Linked DNA regions of Homo sapiens: region 1 is linked to region 2. The links are contacts of gene promoters, found by promoter capture Hi-C in human tissues and cell types (Jung and others, 2019). All regions are on one chromosome and are shown on one strand. The core of a region is centred on a gene start or on the middle of the fragment in contact, and the rest is flanking DNA. Distances in the headings are between cores, read along the strand shown.

Region 1 (4,156 bases), core at 401-2,900, 150 kb after region 2:
TAGGTCTTTCTTTTTTTTTCTTGAGACGGAGTCTTTAAAAGAGCAGATTGCAAGGCGTAAATTCCGGCCAGACACAGTGGTTCACACCTGTAATCCCAGCACTTTGGGAGGCCAAGGCAGGTGGATCACTTGAGGTTGGGAGTTTGAGACCAGCCTGGCTAACATGGCGAAACCCATCTCTACTAAAAATACAAAATTAGCCAGGTGTGGTGGCATGCACCTGTAATCGCAGCTACTCTGGAGGCTGAGGCAGGAGAATCACTTAGAACACAGGAGGCGGAGGTTGCAGTGAGCTGAGATCATGCCAGCCTGGGCTACAGAGCAAGAATGTGTTTCAAAAACAAACAACAAAAAACAAAGAGCAGTAAAGAGAGGCAGAATCTATTAATAATAGAGCAAACATGAAGGTAACAGTCCAGTGCCAAATGAAATCTTCTCAATTGGAGAGCCTCTGAAATCTAAGTGAAACAGTCTTTTTTGGGGGACAGATCAACAGTGATTGGATCTCTCTACTTACTAAACGTTTCTATTTTTTAGGTATCGAATGATAACAGAAGGCGGAGTCAGCATAAATCACCAACAAGTAACAAATCCTGAGAGTGTTTTAATTGTTGGACAACATATTCTCAAGAATGGACTTTCCTTACTTAAAATAGGAAAAAGAAATTTCTACATTATAAAATGGCTTCAGTTGTGATGAAAAGTCCTTCTGGTTGTCCAAATAAACTTACCCATCATTCATTCTCAAGACCTCTGAAGGGTTGGCTCCAGAACTTAGACCTTTGCTTATGCAAATCAGAAAAACAGAATGGACTAGGACTCAGTGTGAGTAACTTCATTATTTTTATGGGCCGGTTAATAAATATTTGTTTAATAATGGGATGTTTTATTTTCTGATGTACAAAGCTTGATTACCATAGAAAACCATGATTTTCAGGGTTAATCTCTTTTTAAAATTATACTTCAGAAGAGAAAGAAATGCTGCTTTCCTATCTTACCCTTCCTGCTCTCCTTTTTGTAGTGATGAGGAACAATGAAAAAGAGGTAGTGTAAGGAATTGTGAGGCTGGGCATGGTGGCTCACACCTGTAATCCCAGCACTTCGGGAGGCCAAGGTGGGCAAATCGCTTGAGGCCAGGAGTTTGAGACCAGCCTGGCCAACAGGGCGAAACCCCGTCTCTACTGAAAATATAAAAATTAGCCAGATGTGGTTGCAGGCACCTGTAACCCCAGCTACTCAAGAGGCTGAGCTGCGAGAATCACTTGAACCCAGGAGATGGAGGTTGCAGTGAGCTGAGATCACGCCACTGCACTCCAGCCTGGGAGACAGCATGAGTAGTGAGTGAAACTCTGTCTCAAAAAAAAAAAAAAAAAAAAGGAATTGTAGCTGCTTTTCTATCAGGTATGGAGCACCGATGTCACTAATGTTATATAGTTGTTTATAAAATCATCAGGGCCTCTAGTGTCCACATTAGAAATGGGAAAACTAGTATTAGAAACTTTGAATAGAAATTTGATTTTTTTGTAGTTCAGAGAGCAAATGTAGTTCTTAAAAAGGAGAAAAAGTTAGATGAGGCCATGGTTGCTTTGAGAAATTACAGTAAGTAGTTTCTTTACAAATAATAGTACAAAAATCAGTACGTGACTTTTCAGAAAGTTTCTAATTCAGTTTTCTGGTTCCTTGCCTGTGTTCCAGTATAATTCTGTTCACATTAAGCCTTGTTGTCAGTGGATTCCTAAGGTAGCAATGTTTTATAAATTTAGAAACTTAAATTGGTTTTAAGTTTCAGCTTTTCCCCCCAAGCAGATTGCAACTTGAGGTAAATTAAAAAGTTAACCCCCCAAAAATAAAGCCAATTATACCAAATATGCAATCATATGAGAATATCAAAAAGTATCCAGGTAAGGAAAGTTTTCAGGTCAAACTTAAAGGATTTGGAATCAAGACTGAGTTCAGCTCTTCAAACATGAGGCAAATTAATTCTCCAGAACTATTTCCATATCTGAAAAATCAAGGCAATGGCATCCCTGTTGCCTTGAGGATCAAGTGAATCACATACGAAATGATTAATCAGATTTCTTTTGAAAACCTTACAGGCAGCAGAGCATGGCTTTAGTGTTCAAATTCTAGCCATTTACTACCTGGATTACTTGGAGCAAGTCACTGTCTTCATACGCAAAAATGGAGATGTTATAATACCTTGGTGAACTGTCAGAATCTGGTAGGAAAAAAGTCGTAAAATTTTTCGTACTCTATACGGTTATGTTCCAAAGTAGATTAGGTATTAAAAAGCTCCTTTTGTCTCCCTTTCTCTGGGAGAAAAGTTAAGAATTCATTTTTTGACAAACTTTAGTGTCATTTCATACCAGCAATTTTATTTACACAATAAGAACATACAGGTATCGTCAGAGATCATCTCTACATTTCAGATCTTGACTCAGTTTAAGGGCCAACAAAGGAAGGCTTTTCTCTTTCCGTTGTTTCTTGCCTCTGTTTTTTGTTGTACAAAGTGTGTAGTACTAGCAAGTGCATTACCATAGCATGTCTTTAATTTTCAATTTGAAATCTGATGTGCTGGAGAAAAGTGCATCGTAAGTTTTTGTTTTTGTTTTTTTTCCCCTTACAAATTCAAAGGACTAGAATAATGATAGTCATCTGGAAAAAGTAAATCATGAATGGCTATAATTTTGAAACTGATGCTTAATGATGGCAGTGATTTTTAAGTGTGGTAACAAACGTTTTGGGAGCATGTATCCTCTGTCAAGATGGTACTAGTAACAGATTCAAAGTAGTACCATATCGTATCAGACTGATGTGGGGGTTTTTATGTTTGACATCAGTTGGTGAGCCTGTTGTTCCTTAGTAAATTGATGCCATAAGCTAAAGTTAACATATTCATATTTTCCCTGCCAATAGTCCTTCATAAATACCTGGTCATAAACTGAAAAAAAAGTAATATCTGCAATATAAATGTGTTGTCTATTAGAGACGGGGCTAGATGTCTTAAGGATTTCTAAGTACATCTTAAAATTTATAATATAGTCGTTCATACCAAGAATCATCTGGGGAATTTTAACAAAATATGTATATGTTCTAAACCTCATCACTACCCCATAAATGCAGCTTAGGTCTGTAAGTCTGAAGGAGTATGTGTATCTATCTGGGTGTTGTTTTATTTTTTTTTTTTGAGACGGAGTTTCGCTCTTGTTGCCAAGGCTGGAGTGCAATGGCACGATCTTAGCTCACCACAACCTCCACCTCCCAGGGTCAAGCAATTCTCCTGCCTCACCCTCCCGAGTAGCTGGGATTACAGGCATGCGCCACCACGCCCGGCCAATTTTGTATTTTTAGTAGAGACGGGGTTTCTCCATGTTGGTCAAGCTGGTCTCCAACTCCCAACCTCAGGTGATCCACCTGCCTCGGCCTCCCAAAGTGCTGGGATTACAGGCGTGTGCCACCACGCCCAGCCTTGGGTGTTTTTCTTTCAGCTCCTCCAGTACTTTCATACTATTCTAATAAATATATTTTGTTGGTATGAAGCTATGAAGCAAAAGTAGCTATTACCAATGCATACATACAGTACACTGGTTTTAAGTTCCACCTCAAAGTGAATCTTAGAGCCTGGTGTAAGTGCTCCACTTTAGAGATGTACCTTAATTACTACTGTATTTGCAAATTAAGGGAAATTTAGGTCATCATTTGATTTTCTGAAATCTAAAAGGAACTGACCATCATTACCAAGTCTTTCTAGATAATCAAGGGTAGATGGCTGTTTTTAATGTAGGAATTAATGTAGGCATTCCTGCTTTCAGGTTTAAGTATGAATCAAAGCATATTTTAATTTGCTAGTGCAAATGGACCCAGAATTGGAAGGGCTATGTAACTACACAGTATGCACACCACAGCCATGTCAGTGTCACAGATCCTCTTGTGCATTCAGCTTTCTTAAAAACACATCAAAGGCTGCAAAGAAGCTCAGAAAAAACTAAATTGAAGGACAGGTGGAATACAATGACTCTATGTGAGGAACTTGCCAACTCACATCTTTCAAAGCCAGATCAGCTTATATAGTACATGCATTATAGTCATATGAAATGTTGTCTTGGTGCTTTCTTCTTGGAGGACTATGGCAGCAGCTTTAAGACTACTAACAAAG
Region 2 (4,301 bases), core at 259-2,758:
AAATAGTGGTCCATTCTATTGGGGTGGGAGCAATTGCTTCCAGGACTCACATCCATATGGCTCCCACTTAGCCATGTGGCCTGCTGACAAAGGGTGGCGGAACTGTCACTACTCTGTTGTCCACGCTTTCAGTCCTTTGGTTTCCTCTTCACTCCCTGGACGCTCATGTAAAAAGGGAGGCCATATACCTGTGCATTGTGTGTCTAAGCATTCAGTGTGTGTCTAAAGGCAGAAGGGTGTGGGTAGGAAAACAAAGACGAGGGAAGCTGCGTTCTCCAAACACTTCAGACTTGAGTAAGTGGGGTTTTGCAGCAATTGAGTGATTTGAGGGAAAGTGAACATACAAACCCAAGCAATCAAAGGGAATATTATCTTAATACCAGGGATACATGTTTTTCTTTCTGCCTCTTAAGTCCAAAGAGGCAAATCAGGACAAGTGGCTTTGGTTGTAAACTTTAAGGTCAAGGATCCTTTCTGTTGAGCTTAGCTCTCAAGTTCTCAGTAGTCAACTGCGGTGAAACATAATTAATAGCACGATAAATACAAGTTGTGGAAGATTCGATTGAAAGTTGGAGGCCCTCTCCGTGGATCTCTCTACAAAGAGCCTGTAATAAAGAGGACTTAATCAACGTTAGCAGGGCTATTTAAAAAGCATCGTCTATTAAAATTCATTTCTTCTCTAGAGCCTCTTGTTGGAGTTTCTCTGTGTGGGTGTGTTCGTAAGAGAGGAATGGGTTAGCAAGAGTACTGGGTACAATTTGTGTATCCAAGAGAAAACAGAAGCTCTCAATGAGGAAGAACATATGTTTCTGGGACTGCATCTGTGCAAAAAGTACATAGTCCTGACGTTGTACTAAGAAAAAAAACACTCTCTTTAGAAAGTCTTTTATTTCACACGTTATCTTCTTGGCACATTTCCCTCATATTGCCCTTTCCGCCTGACCAAATAGCCCTTTCTCACCCTCAGGTCCAGGAAAACCAGGAAACGTTTCCAACAGTGCGACAAAGCCTGACTAACCAGACATACTACTCGCTCGGGGATCCCGGAGGCAAGCCTCAGTCCAAGAACAGGAGTGACTCTCGAGGGCTCACCTGCCTGCAGGGCAGCCCCTCCCTGCATCGAGCGGAAATCCATCCTGTCCAGCGCGGGGCGTGGGCAGAGCGGGGCGCGGCCCCGGCAGGCGGTATCCGCTGGGACTCCGACAACGTGCGCGACCCCAGGCGAACCGCGCCCCTCTCCCCACCTCCCCGCGGGCGGGTACAAGTCTCCAGGTGTCCGCGCGCTCAGCGGGTCCGGCCCGCCCCCGCCCCCGCCCCCGGGCCCGACTGCGCGTGCCCGGCCGGAGCCGCGCCCCCTCCTCAGGGAAGGCCGGGCGTCCGGCCCACGAGGCCGAGCTCCCCCCCGGCCCGGGCCTCTCACCGGCGCGGGGGGCGGGCCAGGGGCGGGGCCGGACTCGAGCGGGGCGGGGCTCGCGCCAGCGCCCCCAGCTCCGTGGCGGCTTCGCCCGCGAGTCCAGAGGCAGGCGAGCAGCTCGGTCGCCCCCACCGGCCCCATGGCAGCCCCCGGCGCCCCAGCTGAGTACGGCTACATCCGGACCGTCCTGGGCCAGCAGATCCTGGGACAACTGGACAGCTCCAGCCTGGCGCTGCCCTCCGAGGCCAAGCTGAAGCTGGCGGGGAGCAGCGGCCGCGGCGGCCAGACAGTCAAGAGCCTGCGGATCCAGGAGCAGGTGCAGCAGACCCTCGCCCGGAAGGGCCGCAGCTCCGTGGGCAACGGTGAGTGGAGCCCGCCGCTCCCCGGCGCCGCCCCCTGCCCCACACCCGGTCACCTCCTCCTATCCCGCCCTCACCCCGCGTGCTGGGAGTGCGGGACCCCGTGTTCTGCCCACCTGTTGCTCGCCGTCTTCGGTATGACCGACTTGCTTGTGGAAAGCACTCTTTTCCATAACCTATTACTCAGCTTTGTCATATAGGTACCTATGTATATTAAATATTGTACATATCTATCAATGTTAACTAACTCACTTCAAGATTTCACCCCTTTCTTTTTCTACTCCGCCGGTCCGCGCCCCTCACTGGTGCGGACTTAATTTGAAGGTTCAGGGAGTCTATAAACACCTTGAGATGCTATGCAGAATTTTTGGTGTGTACGATCTTTTTCTGGGAGAAGGAGCCCTTCAATTTTATTAGATTTGTTAAATAATTAATGACCCCCATAAATATCTTGGGGAAAAAAACCGACAGCACTGGCGCTCCTACAACCTATAAATTGGGATTGTGCTGTCTTATGCAAGTACTTCGGGGCGCTCCACCCTGTGTGGGAGGCGAGTGGTGGATCTAGGGAGTGAAGAAAAGTAGTTAGGAGGCTTTGGTCCAGGGAACAAACACGCCGAGGAGGAGGTAGGGGACTTTGGCCCTGCCGGCAACAGCCGTGCCCGCCTAGCTGCGCTTCCTACCCCCACCAGTGCGGGCGTGATGCAAGTCTGATCCCTCCAAAAAATTAAACCCGAAGGTGAAAGGGGTGTAAGCACACACATGCACACTATGTTCATGATTGATAGACGGGGGAGGTGGAAGGGAAAGAAGATGGCAAGCCACTTGTGAAAATTAGAGATCATGATGTATCCTTTTCTCCCCTGCTGAAGTCAGGTGATGGGATCAACTCAGTGACCCTTGTTTTACTTCTTGTTGCTGTGTATGTGAGTTTGCATTATAAAAGCACTATGTTGGCTTATAGCAAAAAGAAGAGGAAAGAAATTGAGCAATTAAGTTGGAATATCTGTTTCCTGCAACGTTCAGTTGTTTCTGTATGAAGTAACTTGGGCATTGGCGAATGTAGGCTAACCCATTCTAGTTTCTATTAGGAAAACAGAAAAATTCTAACAGGCCAGACCAGAGATTTCAAACAGCAGAGTCTGGGAGGCTGTACTGTGTGTGTAAAAGAATCCTAAAGGATGACGTAGTCAATATTAACATACTTGAAAGGTAAAGAGAAGATGTTCAATGATCGTAGTTAATATAACTGAGTGCATACTATGTGCCAAGAATTGGGCGATGTGGTTTGCATTCATTTGAGATATATATATATATATGTATTTAAAAACTTGTGAGTTAGGTATTTTCATCCTCATTTTACAGATGAGGAAACTAAGCAGTTAAGTAACACTGAAGCTCTAATAGATGGTAAGTGGCAGAGCTGGTATTTAAACTCCCAAACCTGAATTTTAAACTTATCAGTTTTATCATTAAGTTTTAAAATGATTAATACAAAGTGGGATTTGTTAGATGCTAAGCCTCTCCGTGGCCCCCTCCCATTTTTCTTTAAATAAAATTGAGGAAGTTCTGAAAGGCTGGGGAGGTCTAGAAAACACAGAACTGCTGCAATACATGGAGGGAAAGACCTTATATTTATTTAGACTTAGGGGTCTGACTAAAGACTGCGGGATGAGTGAGGCCAGTCTTTGAAAAGTGGAGCCATTACACCCATTCATTCTCTGTGCCCATAGGTCCAGTGCTAAACTGAAACCAAATCAGCTTCCCCTGCGTAGGAGACACAGGAGGCATATTAGATATTCTTTCTTATCCTCTGAGAATGGCCAGCTAGGAAGAGAGCAAGCAGATACAACTCTTCCATAAATGGAGGGAATGGAGCCATGAACAGAAGAAAAGGGAATGTTGCTGAGCATCTACTATGTGCCTATTCCAGAATCTTCATTATATTCTTGAAACAATTGCTGAGATAGATATGAGAATCCATCTCACATATGAAGTATGTGTCTGTCAGCAATGGTTGGAAATTTAATCCCAACTCCACACATAATCTGTTCTTTCTACAAAGTAATGCATCACCTGTGTGATGAATTCAGCAAGCATCAAATGAGTATGTTCTTCATGCCGGGCGCTGTGCAGGTGCTGAATTAAACACAAAGACTCTGCTTGCTTTAAAGCAAAAAGTTTGAAGAAGGAAGCCAACCGCTAGAAAAATACATTACCAAATAAAAAGTAGTAAGTGACCCAAAAGAATGGCTAATATATTATGGAGTTTAGAAGTGTAAATTGGCTGGGCGCAGTGACTCATGCCTGTAATTGCAGCACTTTGGGAGGCCGAGGCGGGAGGATCACCTGAGGTCGGGAGTTTGAGACCAGCCTGACCAACATGGTAAAATCCCATCTCTACTAAAAATACAAAATTAGCCGGGCGTGGTGGCACATGCCGGTAATCCCAGCTACTCAGCTACTCGGAAGGCTGAGGCAGGAGAATCGCTTGAACCCGGGAGGTAGAAGTTGCAGTGAGCGGAGAT

What was found. The method cuts DNA at HindIII sites, captures the fragments that hold promoters and counts their contacts. A contact is called where the count stands out against the background at its distance.
Region 1: a fragment that was not itself captured here is called in contact with the fragment with the promoter of PKP2 in region 2 in 2 of the 25 tissues and cell types used here (mesenchymal stem cells and thymus).

The regions. Positions count from the first base shown.
Region 1 is chr12:32,743,745-32,747,900 of GRCh38, reverse strand. It overlaps DNM1L (dynamin 1 like), which reads right to left. Exons shown (of 20, transcript NM_012062.5): 20 at 2,251-4,156. It overlaps YARS2 (tyrosyl-tRNA synthetase 2), which reads left to right. Exons shown (of 5, transcript NM_001040436.3): 5 at 538-1,357. The coding sequence ends at 697. Among named protein-coding and RNA genes, the nearest start is that of YARS2, 10 kb to the left of the region's middle. The HindIII fragment of the contact is 6,792 bases long and covers 1-4,156 here.
Region 2 is chr12:32,893,984-32,898,284 of GRCh38, reverse strand. It overlaps PKP2 (plakophilin 2), which reads left to right and starts at 1,508. Exons shown (of 13, transcript NM_001005242.3): 1 at 1,508-1,776. The coding sequence starts at 1,554. RefSeq lists silencers at 1,100-1,199, 1,400-1,509. The HindIII fragment of the contact is 8,511 bases long and covers 1-4,301 here.